Linked DNA regions of Homo sapiens: regions 1, 2, 3 and 5 are each linked to region 4. Evidence: promoter capture Hi-C in 16 types of primary human blood cells and fetal thymus (Javierre and others, 2016). All regions are on one chromosome and are shown on one strand. The core of a region is centred on a gene start or on the middle of the fragment in contact, and the rest is flanking DNA. Distances in the headings are between cores, read along the strand shown. Region 1 has its middle 3.5 kb from the start of RTP1. Region 2 has its middle 3.9 kb from the start of RPL39L. Region 3 has its middle 21 kb from the start of RPL39L. Region 4 holds the start of ADIPOQ (adiponectin, C1Q and collagen domain containing). Region 5 has its middle 17 kb from the start of RTP1.

What was found. Contacts are between HindIII fragments. The CHiCAGO score rates a contact against its expected background, and 5 or more counts as called.
Region 1: a fragment that was not itself captured here is called in contact with the fragment with the promoter of ADIPOQ in region 4 in 3 of 17 cell types (activated CD4 T cells, naive B cells and megakaryocytes); the score reaches 6.0 in activated CD4 T cells.
Region 2: a fragment that was not itself captured here is called in contact with the fragment with the promoter of ADIPOQ in region 4 in 14 of 17 cell types (non-activated CD4 T cells, activated CD4 T cells, naive CD4 T cells and 11 more); the score reaches 17.7 in non-activated CD4 T cells.
Region 3: a contact is called between a fragment that was not itself captured here and the fragment with the promoter of ADIPOQ in region 4, in 15 of 17 cell types (naive CD4 T cells, activated CD4 T cells, non-activated CD4 T cells and 12 more). The highest score is 24.2, in naive CD4 T cells.
Region 5: a fragment that was not itself captured here is called in contact with the fragment with the promoter of ADIPOQ in region 4 in 1 of 17 cell types (M2 macrophages); the score reaches 5.2 in M2 macrophages.

Annotation. Positions count from the first base shown.
Region 1 is chr3:187,192,681-187,195,380 of GRCh38, forward strand. No RefSeq gene overlaps it. Among named protein-coding and RNA genes, the nearest start is that of RTP1, 3.5 kb to the right of the region's middle. The HindIII fragment of the contact is 722 bases long and covers 1,075-1,796 here.
Region 2 is chr3:187,141,993-187,144,727 of GRCh38, forward strand. No RefSeq gene overlaps it. Among named protein-coding and RNA genes, the nearest start is that of RPL39L, 3.9 kb to the left of the region's middle. The HindIII fragment of the contact is 3,288 bases long and covers 1-2,735 here.
Region 3 is chr3:187,116,791-187,119,490 of GRCh38, forward strand. No RefSeq gene overlaps it. Among named protein-coding and RNA genes, the nearest start is that of RPL39L, 21 kb to the right of the region's middle. The HindIII fragment of the contact is 5,493 bases long and covers 1-2,700 here.
Region 4 is chr3:186,841,315-186,844,014 of GRCh38, forward strand. ADIPOQ (adiponectin, C1Q and collagen domain containing) reads left to right here and starts at 1,396. Exons shown (of 3, transcript NM_004797.4): 1 at 1,396-1,435. RefSeq lists a promoter at 720-1,418, a cis regulatory region at 820-847 and an enhancer at 1,436-2,700. The HindIII fragment of the contact is 5,592 bases long and covers 720-2,700 here.
Region 5 is chr3:187,213,148-187,215,923 of GRCh38, forward strand. No RefSeq gene overlaps it. Among named protein-coding and RNA genes, the nearest start is that of RTP1, 17 kb to the left of the region's middle. The HindIII fragment of the contact is 8,392 bases long and covers 1-2,776 here.

The sequences.
Region 1 (2,700 bases), core at 186-2,685, 350 kb after region 4:
AAATCCAAACCATATCAGGCACTTAGCAGTGGATTTAGAGAATTCCTTATATACCATTGTGATATTCCATATAGCATTGCTTCTGACTGGCAACTCATTTCAAAGTAAAGGAAATCTGGCAATGAGCTCACACTCATGAAATTCATTAGTCTTAACTATATCACCCATAATCCTGAAGTAGTTGGCCTGATTGAACAATGTGGTGGTCTTTGGAAGACTCAGTTATAGAATCAGCTGGGGGACAGGACCTTGCAGGGCTAGGATAATGTTCTCCAGGATGTGGTACATGCTCAGAATTAGCAACCATGATGATATAGTGCTTAGTTCCAAGAATTAAAGGGTAGAATGGACTGGCTTTCTCAAAATTAGCCCTAATGGTAAACTAGTTTTTTTTCCCTTTTCTTTCTGTACCCATAACTTTGATCTCTGCTATTTTAGAAATCTTAGTACCCAAGGAAAAAAAATGTTGCCATTAGAGAAGAAAATTAAAAATTCCTTTAAAGTTGAGACTACTACATGGGCTCTTAATATCATTAAATCAACAGATGGAGGGGCTTACTGTTCTGGTCCAGCAATGTTGGGGCATTCTGGAAGGAAAGAGTCTTTGTTTTGGGACTGTGAGGCACATTTAGATCTTTGGTACAGGGTACCAGTAGAAACTTCCAGTCATGGGTCCAGCCCTAAAACACACCCCTCCTTCTTCTCAAATGCCATTTAGGGATAGAAAATTGTGCATAGTTGAGAATTTTTCATGAGTGCATCATTTCAAGAAAAAAAATTAGAGGCTTGTTTTTTCTTTTCATTGCTCTATTTTCTAGTTGGGAACTTAATTTAAAGCATTTTATCCACTTAAAACATGATCACAAACTTTAAGAAATTGACCAGGGTGAGGCCAACAGCTTTAGAGATGTCTGAATTGGCCTTCTCTAAATTGTAGATTCCATGGTGTTAGAGGTCATTTGATAGAGAGCAAGTTGCAATACCACAGTATTTTTTTCTGTCTTGATAGAAATTTTTATTAGAGAAAATACTCTGCTATCCAGAAGGATGCATTATATTGGCCTCTGCACAGCAAGCTTGGGTTCTAAATAAAACTTAATTTGTGCCAATGGGGATTGCATCAGCTGGTTACACACACACACACACTCACACACACACACACACACACCCCTCTGGTGATTCTTACTTTCTGTCTTCTGTCATCATAGTGTTTATTGTAGCAACACCTGCAAAATACTTCTAGAGGATTTGTTCTGGGTAGCACTGTTTGTTATAAGCTCCTCTCAGCTTCACGTATTTTCTGGGAAGGTCCACAGCCCCCATTCTCATTTTGGCCAGTAACTCCCACCTGAGGCAGTTCCCATCATATCTGTGAGGTTTGTTAAACGAGTTTACTTATTTAGGTGTTGGTTGCCTTAATTCAGAGGTAAGAATACTGACTTGAAGGACTGAAAGTTTAATGAAGGGTCCTGAAGAACTTAAGAGTTTTTCCCAATGCCGGCCAGGTGAGATGGCGCATGCCTGTGATCTTAGCACTTTGGGAGGTGGAGGCAGGAGGTTTGCTTGAGCCCAGGAGTTTGGGACCAGCCTGGGCAACACAGCAAGACCCCGTCTCTACATAAAAAATGGGTTTTCCAATGTTAATGTTCAGTGGCTTGATATATTTAATTTCTGTCCTTCTTGCTGTGTTCAGTACAAATCTAGTAGAGAAGCACCTCCCCAGAGATCGTCAACTATATAGCAGGCCCCAGGAAACAGAGCCTGGCTCCAGGCATTACCTGCCATGCCTCTTTAGAAGCTTCCCTCTTCCAACCAGTGGCCTCCATCCTACCTCCTGCCCTCCCAGGATTCAGTTTTCTAAGTATAAAGCTGTTTGAAACCATACATGACTGAAGTTAGAGGGGAGCTTACCTTTGTCATCTACCCTAATTCTTCATTGAACAGATGGACAAACTGAGGCCAAGGGAAATTAGTGGCTTGCCCAAGGTCACAATGTCAGCCAGGAGCAGAGCTGGGCTATGTGTCTCCTGACTCCCAGTTCAGTGCTCTCTCCATTGAGCCAAGATGCCTGGCATCAAATGATTGAGGCTTTACAGGGTTGCTGTGCCTAGAGATGACTTTCTGTACCATATTTTCTTTGGTAAGATTTCAAGCTAAATATCTCTCTCAGCTCTAAAATATTTATACCGAGTATCAGGGGTCTGTGGACACCATTGCTTCATTAAGTTTGGCAGTAGAGGCAGCATCCCCAGCAGTAGCAGGGAGCCTGGTGGGTCAAGTACAACTCACCCCTCTTCTGGGGAGATGTGGCCTCAGTGTGGGGGGGCCCCAGTGAACCATTTGCTGAAATGATATAAACTTCATTTGCAATTCTTGGGGTCTGTAACGGCCACGTGAGTGATGAAGAAACACACATTTAATTAGCAGATGTTATGTTCTAGATTCCACGCTGAGCATCACAATGGCTAAAGCTGGGGCTTTGTAGACAGTCATATAGGTTTAAGTCCCAGTTCAACTAGTTATTAGCTGTTAAATCTTGTGCAAGTTATCTAACCTCTAGACTTTAGCTCACATATCTGTAAAATGGAGCTGCTGCTGCTGTTACCTACCTGTCAAGTTTGTTATTGAATGAAATAAATTAATATTTATAAAGCACCAGAACAATGCTTTCTAAGCACTTACCAGGTAAGTGCTGTATAG
Region 2 (2,735 bases), core at 138-2,637, 300 kb after region 4:
GAACACTTGAGGATGGATAATTTATGAAGAAAGATTTATCTGGCTCATGTTCCACAGGCTGTATAAGAAGCATGGTGCCCACATCTACATCTAGTGAGAGCCTCAAACTGCTTTCACTCATGGTGCAAGGGAAAGGGGAGCAACTTGTGCAGAGATCACATGGCAAAAGACGCAAGAGAGAGTAGAGAGGGAGGCTCTTTTTAAATATCAGCTCTCAAGGTGTATTAGTCCATTTTTACACTGCTAATAGAGACATACTGGAGACTGGGTAATTTGTAAAGGAAAGCAGTTTAGTTGACTCACAGTTCTCCATGGCTGGGGAGGCCACACAAAATTTACAATCATGGTGGAAGAGGGAGCAAACATGTTCTTCTTCACATGGCAGCAGCAAGGAGAAGTGCTGAGCAAAAGGGGGAAAAACCCCATATAAAACTATCAGACCTCATGAGAACTCAATCGCTATAACAAGAACAGCATGAGGGTTAACTGCCCCATGATTAAATTATCTCCCACTGGGTCCCTCCCACAACATGGGGATTATGGGAACTACAATTCACGATGAGATTTGAGTTGGGCACAGCCAAACCATATCACGAAAGCACTAAGAGTGCGAAGTCACCATCCCCCAGAGAGGGCATTAATATATTCACGAGGGATCCACCTTAAACCTCAGGACCCAAATATTTCCCATCAGGCCCCACCTCTAACATTAGGGATCAAATTTCAATATGCAGTTTGGGGGACGAACGTCCAAAGTATAGCAATCAGCCTTTTAAAACTTACCCTTTTCATTTTGAGATAATTGCAGATTTACCTGCAGTTGTAAGAAGTAGTATAGGGGCTGAGTGTGGTGGCTTATGCTTATAAACCCAGTGCTTTGGGGGGCCAAGGTGGGAGGATCTCTTGAGCCCAGGAGTTTAAGACAGTCTGGGTCATACAGCAAGACCCTGATCTACAAAAAATTGAAAGTTAACCAGGCATGGTGGTGTGCATCTGTAATCCAGCTACTTGGGAGGCTGAGGCGGGAGGGTGGCTTGAGTCCAGGAATTTGAGGCAGCAGTGAGCTACAATCACATCACTGCACTCCAGCTTGGTTGGCAGAGTGAGACCCTGTCTCTAAAAAAAGAAAGAAAGAGAAATAGTTCAGAGATTCTTTGTGCCCTTTGCCCAGTTTCTCCAAAAGGTAAAATCTTGCAAAACTCTACAATAATATTACTATCAGGATATTGGCATTGTTACAGTCAAGATACAGAACTCTTCCATCACCATAAGAATCCCTCATGGTGCTCTTTAATAGGCACAGCAACTTTCCACCTGCTTCCACTCCTCCCATATGCCATTAGTTCTCCATTTTTATAAACTTGTCCTTTCAAGATCGCAATATAAAGGAGAACTATAGCATGTAACCTTTTGGGATTGGCATTTTTTTTTGCTCAGCATAATTCTCTGGAGATTCATCCAGTTTATTGCCTGTATCAGTAGTTTGTGTCTTTTTATTGCTGAATAATATTCCATAATATCCACAGTGTATTTAACCATTATCAGTTGAAGAACATCTGGGCTAATTATGAATAAAGTTGCTATAAAATTTGTGTCTAGGTTTTTGTGTGAACATGAGTCTTTATTTCTTTGAGACAAATGCCCAGAAGTGTAATTCCTAAGCCATATGGTAGTTGCATGCTTAATTTTTCAGAATCTGACAAACTGATTTCCAGAATGGCCATATCATTTTTTTCCCACTAGTAAACTATGAGTGATTCTTTGCATCCTCACCAGAATTTGATGTTGTCACTTCTTTGTTTTAGTAATCTTGCTAGGTATATATCAATATATCATTGTAGTTTTAATTTGCATTTCCCTAATGGCTAATGATATAGAACATCTTTTTTCATTTGCCAATTTGCAATCTTGTGTATCCTCTTCAGTAAAATCTCTTTTCATTACCATGTTTGTTTCCTTTTACTATTGAATTTTGAGAGCTCTTTATATATTCAAAATGCTAGGCCTTTGTCAGATATGTGTTTTACAGATATTTTCTCCCATTCTGTAGCTTGTCTTTTCATTCTCTTAACAGGGTCTGTCACAGAGCAAAAGTTTTTAACGGGTGAAGTTACATTTATCAACTTTTCTCTTACGAGTGATGTTTTTAGTGTTAAGACTCTTTGTCTAGCTCTAGCTCTTAAAGATTTTCTCTTTTTTTCCTAAAAGTATTATAGTTTGATATTTTACATTTAAGTCTGTGATCCATTTTTAGTTAATTGTTATATAAGGTATGAGTACTTTTTTGCCTGCTTTATTAGTCTATTCTCACACTGCTATAAAGATACTACCTGAGACTGGGTAATTTATAAAGAAAGGAGGTTTAACTGACTCACAGTTCCACATGGCTGAGGAGGCCTCAGGAAACTTACAATCATAGCAGAGGGCAAAGGGAAAGCAAGTACCTTCTTCACAAGGTGAAGACAGGCAAGAGAGAGAGAGCTCAGGGAAATTGCCAGACTTATCAAACAACCAGATCTCAGGTAAAAACACTTACTATCATGAGAACAGCATTGGAGAAACCACCCCCATGAGAAATCACTCACTATCATGAGAACAGCGTAGAGGAAACTGCCCCCATGATCCAATCACCTCCCACCAGGTCCCTCCCTCAACGTGTGGGGATTACAATTCAAGATGAGATTTGGGTGGGGACACAGACCCAGACCATATCATTCCACCCTGGCCCCTCCCAA
Region 3 (2,700 bases), core at 174-2,673, 280 kb after region 4:
ACATATGAAAAGGTGTTCAACCTCACTCAAACAAATGAATGCAAATTAAGACTATACTGAGATACCGTTTCTCACCTACCAGATGGGGAAAATTAGATAGTGTGATGCCATTCTGATGAAAGGCTGTGAGAAGAGAAGACAGCTGTGAGGGGTTTTCAGCACTCGGCTCTCCAGTTCATCCTTCTACATGAGTTTCAGTGATGATCAAGGAAGATACGTGAGGAGAAGAGAGTGCCTGTGCTGTTTGGTGCAGACTTAGAAAGGATGTTGGGAACAAAGCACTGGGGTGTTCTGGAGATGTTATCTGAGTTCCAAAGAGTGGATTTAATACATTTTTTAAAAATTTTCTAATTCCACAGGTTATTGGGGAACAGGTGGTGTTTGGTTACATAAGTTAAGTTCTTTAGTGGTAATTTGTGAGATTTTCGGTTCACCCATCACCCAAGCAGTATACACTGCACCCAGTTTGTAGTCTTTTATTCCTCACTCCCTTCCCACCCTTTCCCCCTGAGTCCCAAAGTCCATTGTGTCATTCTTATGCCTTTGCATCCTCATACTTAGCTCCCACTTATGAGTGAGAACATACAATATTTGATTTTCCATTCCTGAGTTACTTCACTTAGAATAATAGTCTCCAATCTCATCCAGGTTTCTGCGAATGCCATTAATTAATTCCTTTTTATGGCTGAGTAGTATTCCATCATCCATCTATCATCTATCTATCTATCTATCTATCTATCTATCTATCTATCTATCTATCTATAAAAAACAGTTTCTTCATCCACTCATTGATTGATGGGCATTTGGGTTGGTTCCACATTTTTGCAATTACGAAATGTGCTGCTATAAACATGTGTGTGCAGGTATCTTTTTCGTATAATGACTTTTTTTCCTCTGGGTAGATACCCCGTAGTGGGATTGCTGGATCAAATGTAGACCTATACTGAACATACCCATTTACATCATCCTACAATTTCAAGTATATTTTCTCATATGATATGTGGCAAACAAAAGACATCTGTATCTTTTGATATGTGCTCTCTGTTAAGGTTGGTGCTGGTGCTTGAGAGTGACCTAAATTTTATGGGTCCCATCAAATGGAGGAAAAATTCTCTATAATTGACCTCAGATTTCATTAGGTGACAGATGGCCTATGCTCAGAACATAATCTATTAGAATCAGAAAACTACCTATTGTCTTGGATATTTATGGCAAATTATTAAAATGTTTTCAATCATCAATGCTAGCGTGTAGTCACAGCCCTTGGTGCAGCCTAAAGACAGATGAGCCCAAACCCCCACTCAGAAACAGACCATACCAAGGTAGAGAGGTTCAGCCAACCCACCCAGCTCAACTCAGCTCAGAGTCAGACCTCTGACACTCTAAAGTAGCATTTTATGAAAACCTTGTTTTATTGCCTCAGTTTATGAAGCTGTTTTCAATCTCATTCAAGCCTTGTAACTCAGTGAGGAAGTCGGCTGTCTGATATATCCAGGTGAAATACAATAATTAAGGCCCAGAGAGGTTCTCTACCAGTTGTCCAACATCATAAAACTGATGGGAAGAGCCATAACTTCAAGCTACCCGAATCCTAGTCCTTTGCTTTTTGTTTCTATTGTGGAAGAATTCTTCCCAGAAACAGGATCACTCCCACAAGCAGGGATTCCATTATTTCAAAATTGAGTCAGGAATCTTAAGATTATGGGAGTAAAGCCTTGTTCAATTAACTAGACTCAAGATACAGAAACCAAGATGGGTGTGGTGGCTCATGGCTGGAATTCCAGCACTTTGAGAGGCCAAGGTGGAAGGACTGCTTGAGGCTAGGAGTTGGAGACCAGCCTGGGCAACACAGTGAGGCCCTGTCTCTATAAAAAGTAAAAAATTAGCTGGGCATGGTGGTGCACACCTGTTATCCTAGCTACTCAGGAGGATGAGGTGGGAGAATCATTTGAGCCCAGAAGTTCAAGGCTGCAGTGAGCTAGGATCACATCACTGCACTCCAACCTGGGCGACAGAGCAAGACTGTCTCAAAAAAAAAAAAAAAAAGAAAAGAATAGAAACCAATACTCGATTTTATATATGGGCTCCTCCTTCCTCTTCCATCATAGCTTTCCCAGTATGATTCCCTTAATTTTCTTAACCCTAGTACAACCATCTCGTGATGCACAGACCAGATTTTTCCTCCACTGTTCCACCACTGGGACACGTTGTCTTAGGTCTATACAACATTGATCTAATCCCTGAAGATGAAGGGCCCACTTAAAAAAATTATCTATGTACTAAAAATGTATCTATGTCCGAGGCCTTCTTTGTACAGTCATCACTTGTTATTTGCCAGGGATTGGTTCTAGGACTTCTACAGATACTAAAACCACAGATGCTCAAGTCCTTTATATGAAATGGCCATACTTATTTGCATATAACCTATTCACTTCTTCTGTATATTTAAAATCATTTCTAGATTACTTATAAGACCTAATAAAATATAAATGGTATATAAATCATTGTTATACTGTATTTTTATGTGTATTATTTTTTATTACTGTATTATAATTTTTGGACATTTTTAATCTGTGGTGGGTTGAATTTGCAGATGCGGGACCATGAATATGGAGAATTGAGTGTACTCCATTTTTTTATAAGCATAAAATTACACTCATTCCTAGACCTTCACCTCCTATACACTTCTGTGCTCAGGGC
Region 4 (2,700 bases), core at 146-2,645:
TAAACTATATGGAACCTCATTTTCATGGGCCACTTATTTAAGCCGGGGGACCTTGGAAAGTCTCTCATGTCTCTCATCTCAACGGCCTAATGTGACTTCTCTTGAAATATTTGGACATTAGCAGGAAGCTGAGGCTTTACATCAGATCTTTACTTTAATGGTGGACTTGACTTTACTGGTAGATTTTTAGGCTCTGTGTGGACTGTGGAGATGATATCTGGGGGGCAGGCAGACACTTGCCCTGCCTCTGTCTGAGAAAATTCTGTTTTGGATGTCTTGTTGAAGTTGGTGCTGGCATCCTAAGCCCTTGCTGGGGTCGTAATTTAATTCATCAGAATGTGTGGCTTGCAAGAACCGGCTCAGATCCTGCCCTTCAAAAACAAAACATGAGCGTGCCAAGAAAGTCCAAGGTGTTGAATGTTGCCACTTCAAGCCTAAACTTTCTAGGAACACCTAAGTGGGTGGCAGCTTCCAGTTCTCCAGGCTGCTTCTAGGCCAGAGCTGGGTTCCACAAGAGACAGAATAGGCATATATATGCTTAAGGAACTGGAAAAACAGGCTCTCTCTCTCTCACAAACACACACACACACATACCAAGGTAGCTGTCAAAATGTTATCCGAAATTTTGGAACCAAAAAATCTTGAAAGATGGTATTCCAATATCACATTTTATGTAAGTTTTCTATTATATTAGATTCAAATTACGATTCGAGGCCACAAGCTTTAAGAATTCAGGGCCTTTTTAACTTGCCAAGCCCCACACCACTCCAGGAACTTCCCCACACCCCAGTTCTCAGAATTCATGTGCAAGGTCTTTCCTAAATCCAGGGTCCAGGTCAGAGAGTGGAGGATGTGCTCTATTTCTTACCTGATTGCAGACCCCTCTGACAGTGCTCCCTTCTGAAGCACTCACTGTCTGAACGTACACAGTCTCAGACTTAATCATGCACAGTGAGCAAGACTGTGGTGTGATAATTGGCGTCCCTGACTTATTAGGGCAAATCTATGGGAGGGGGAGACCTCCTGGACCACTGAGCAATTAATTCATTTACATTAGGAAGTTTCTCCGTCAGATGCAGGAAAAAAATCTTGTTTTCCTGCTGTGGTTTTGACTTTTGCCCCATCTTCTGTTGCTGTTGTAGGAGGCAAAATAAGGGTCAAGGCCTGGAAACACAAGTGCTTTGACTGAAGCTCCACTTGGCTTCCGAAGCCCAAGCTGGGTTGTACCAGGTTCCCTAGGGTGCAGGCTGTGGGCAACTGCCAGGGACATGTGCCTGCCCACCGGCCTCTGGCCCTCACTGAGTTGGCCAATGGGAAATGACAATTGTGAGGTGGGGACTGCCTGCCCCCGTGAGTACCAGGCTGTTGAGGCTGGGCCATCTCCTCCTCACTTCCATTCTGACTGCAGTCTGTGGTTCTGATTCCATACCAGAGGGTAAGAGCAATTCTGTGAAGTTCCAGGCTGGGTGGGGGATGCATGCATAGCCTCTGGCTGGGATCACCCAGGCTCTCCCGTCCGTAGTAGTGTGGGAGTGGATACAGGTGGATACTCTGGTCAGAGCAGCACTGGTGGAGGCAGATATGCACTGGGCTTCTTCCTCCGTTCTCCCACAGCCCCAAGAGAGAAAGGGTTATTTCAGACATTCCTTCTAAGATGCATGGAACCATTCTGAATTTTGCCCAGTTCGCTCTGTAGCAGGATACCTATTGAGAAAAAGTTAGGGTCAGTAAGGTGGAAGGGTCTGTCCACAGATGAAGTCCAATTCGATTAAGGGGGATAAGGGAATACATTGCCTCTTAGCTTGACCAGGTAGGGCAAAGGAAGAAGCATATATGAAGGCAGCTTCAGAAAAGTCAAGCTGAGCACTGACTTCAGACTGGAATTAGGAATCCAGCTCTGCCACTTTATTCTACTCAGCAAATATTTACTGAGCAAATTCTATGGGCTAGACAGTGGATTGGGTTCACAAGATACAATGAGTGTGACATGGTTGTTGTCTATGGATTTGGGGATATATGTAGGTATAGGGATATCTTACAAGGTAATCAAGAGGTTCTAATGAGGCCAGCCATGGTGGCTCACACCTGTAATCCCAGCAATTTGGGAGACCGAGGCGGGTGGATCACCTGAGGTCAGGAGTTCCAGACTAGCCTGACCAACATGGTGAAACCCCGCCTCTACCAAAAATACAAAAATTAGTTGGGCGTGATGGCAGGTGCCTGTAATCCCAGCTTCTCGGGAGGCTGAGGCAGGAGAATTGTCTGAACCTGGGAGGCAGAGGTTGCAGTGAGCCGAGATTGTTGCCACTGCATTCCAGCCTGGGTGACAGAGCGAGACTTTGTGTCAAAAAAAAAAAAAAAAGAAAGAAAAGAAAAAGAGGCTCTAATGAGATAAAATGAGAAAAGCCTGGCATATAGTGGCAACTTATGAAAAATTGTAATTAAAAAAAAACATTTTCTGACAGAAGAAACTGGATCTACCTGGTTTTTCTGAAGCCTAATCCTGCTCGCCCCAGTGAGTGCTGTTTCTGAGGCATCCTGGTTGTTTTGAGCTGTGGATGCTGAAGGTTAGAGTGGGAGGGATTTTAGAGGTTAGGTCTGCCCCTCTTGTGTTAGAGGACATGGATCCCTGGTCTGGAGAGGTTCTGGTTTTTGGATCAAGCCTCACAAGGGGTGGCACCAACTCACTCCTAGGAACTC
Region 5 (2,776 bases), core at 202-2,701, 370 kb after region 4:
TATCCATTGGGGTATCATAACCTCTGACTTTGTAGAGGTCTCCTTTGGGACTGAAAGATGCTGGCAGGGAAGACATGTTTTTGCCCATGCTGATCTGTTTGTCATTCAGACACTCACCCTGGGTACCGTCCAGGCCCCACACACCTTCCCATTGTCATCACACTGCTTTATCCTAATACCCCATTCCTCAGAGAAGACTCCCTTGGTGGCTTTGTGATCTGCCTAGGTGTTGAAATGGTCCTGGTTCTTTTTCCTTATTATCAGAAGCTCATTGCTAGGAATTGAGCTTGTGTTTCTGCATTCAAATGACATTTTTCTTTTCTTCTTGAAAAAAAAAATGCCAACACAGGAAATTGTTGCAAAGGCACTGTTTGTCTCCTTCCCTCAAGTTCAGAGAACCCATGGCTTCCTTTCTATGGACAAGTGCTGGTACCAGTGGGTCACAGAAAGACCAGGGACCTGGGAAACGATTTCTGCTTTTGGGTTTTGGTTTCTGCCCTCTTTTCTCTCTACTTCTCTACTAATTCACTGTGAAGTGTTAACAGAGGTTGAGAATCTGTTAAAAGTGACTTCTCTAAGCCCAGCCCTAGGTTCTCAGAGCCCCCAGAAGGAGATTCCTCTCCTCCCTGTAAGCTGGCCTGCCTCGTTCAGGACCATTAGGTCTCTTGCCTAATGTACTGTAGCCATCTTGAGTCTCCCTCAGTTCACTGCATTTAATGCCTCATTTGAAAGGGAAAGCTGATCACATCTCTCTTTGGTTTAAAATCCTTAGATGGCTCCCTATTCCCAAAAGCAAGCTGTGTATTCAAGGCTTTTTATAATCCTGCACATAGAGATCTTCCCAAATGGTGTGATGTTCTTTCTCCCAAACTGTCTGTCTCTCTAGGGACTATATCATTCAGTTTTCCACAAATGCCTGGTGTCCTTTCATATCTCCGCTTTCTCATATGCTACTCCCCATTGCCTGGGATGCTCCTCCTCCTCTTGGTTTACTACTGCAAGGTAAAACAGTACCATTCTTTCCAGAAAACACTAGTGCAGAAAGGTCTTAGCAATGGTGTTGCTACTGAGAGTCACAAAATAGTTCTGGACCACGGGCTACAATATCAGGGAATCTATCTCATCTCTGTCTCTTGCTGGTTGAGTGACCTAAGTCAGAGGTTGCACACTGGTGGGAGAGCCTATAATAATGACTTTCAAATTGCATGTCCATTAGAATCACCTGTGGATCTTTAGAAAATCCCAGTGCTCAGGCCTTACTCTAGATTGATCATATTTGGATCTCTGTGGTTGAGACACAGACATTGGCATTTCTTTAAACTCCCCAGGTAATGCCTGTGTGTAGCCTTGATTGAGAGCCATTGGTGTTAGAGTTAAGGGATTAGGCTCCAGAGTCCATCAGAACTGGTTTCAAATCCTGGTTTCTCCATCTCCTAGCTGAGAGATCTTGGGTCACATTTTTTTAAATGACATTTTTGTTTTGAGAAGTATTGGAAGGTTGTGAAGATGGTACAGGAAGTTCTGATGAATACTACACCAGTTTCCTCTATTATTACCATCTTATATTTGTTTAGTACATTTCTCACAATTAATGAACCAAGATTGATACGTTATTATTAAATAAAGTCCAAATTTTATTCAGATTTCCTTAGTTTTCACCTGATGTTTTTGTCTTTTCCAGGATCCCATCCAGGATATCACATTACATTTATTTGTCATATCTCCTTAGGTTCTGTATTAGTGTCCTGGGGCTGCCCAACCTGGGTAGCTTAAAACAACAGACATTTATTATTACACAGTTTGGAGGCTAGAAGTCTGCAGTCAGGGTGTTCCCTCTGAAACTTGTAGAAGAGAATCCTTCCTCACCTGTTCCTAGCTTCTGCTGGTTTGCTGGCAATCCTTAGCATTTCTTGGCTTGTAGCTACAAAACTTCAATCTCTGCCTTCATCAAGACATGATATTCTCCCTCACGTGTCTGTGTCTCTGTGTCTTTACTTTTCTTTTTTTTTCTTTTTGTGGAGAAGGAGTCTCACTCTGTTGCTCAGGCTGGAGTGCAGTGGCGTGATCTCAGCTCACTGCAACCTCCGCCTCCCGGGTTCAAGTGATTCTTCTGCCTCAGCCTCCCAGGTAGCTGGGATTACAGGCACCCACGACCATGCCTGGCTAATTTTTGTATTTTTAGTATGCATGGGGTTTCACAGGTTGGCCAGGCTGGTCTTGAACTCCTGACCTCAAGTGATCTGCCTGCCTTGGTCTCCCAAAGTGCTGGGATTATAGGCATGAGCCACCGTGCCTGGCCTACTCTTCTTATAAGGATGCCCGTCCTATAGGATTAATTAAGGGCCCGCTGTACTCTAGTATGACCTTTTCTTAACTAATTACAGCTGCAATTATCCCATTTCCAAATAAGTTCACATTCGAAGGTACCGGGGGGTGGGACTTTAACATATCTTTCCCATTTTGGCTCCTCTTGGCTGTGATAGTTTCTTAGAATGTCCCCGTTTTTGATGACCTTAACAGTTTTGATGAGGGTTGGTCAGGTACTTGGTAGAATGTCCCTCAGTTGGGATTTACCTGATGTGTTTCTCATGATTAGCCTGGGGTTATGGGATTTGGAGGGAAGAACACAGAGGTACAAAGCCATTTTCATCATGGCACACAAAGTCACATAGCATCCATGTGACTTAACACTTTTGTATTAACCTTGATTACCCGGCTGAGGTAGTGTTTATCAGGCTTCTGCACAGCAGAATGATTGTGTCCTGCCCCACCTTTT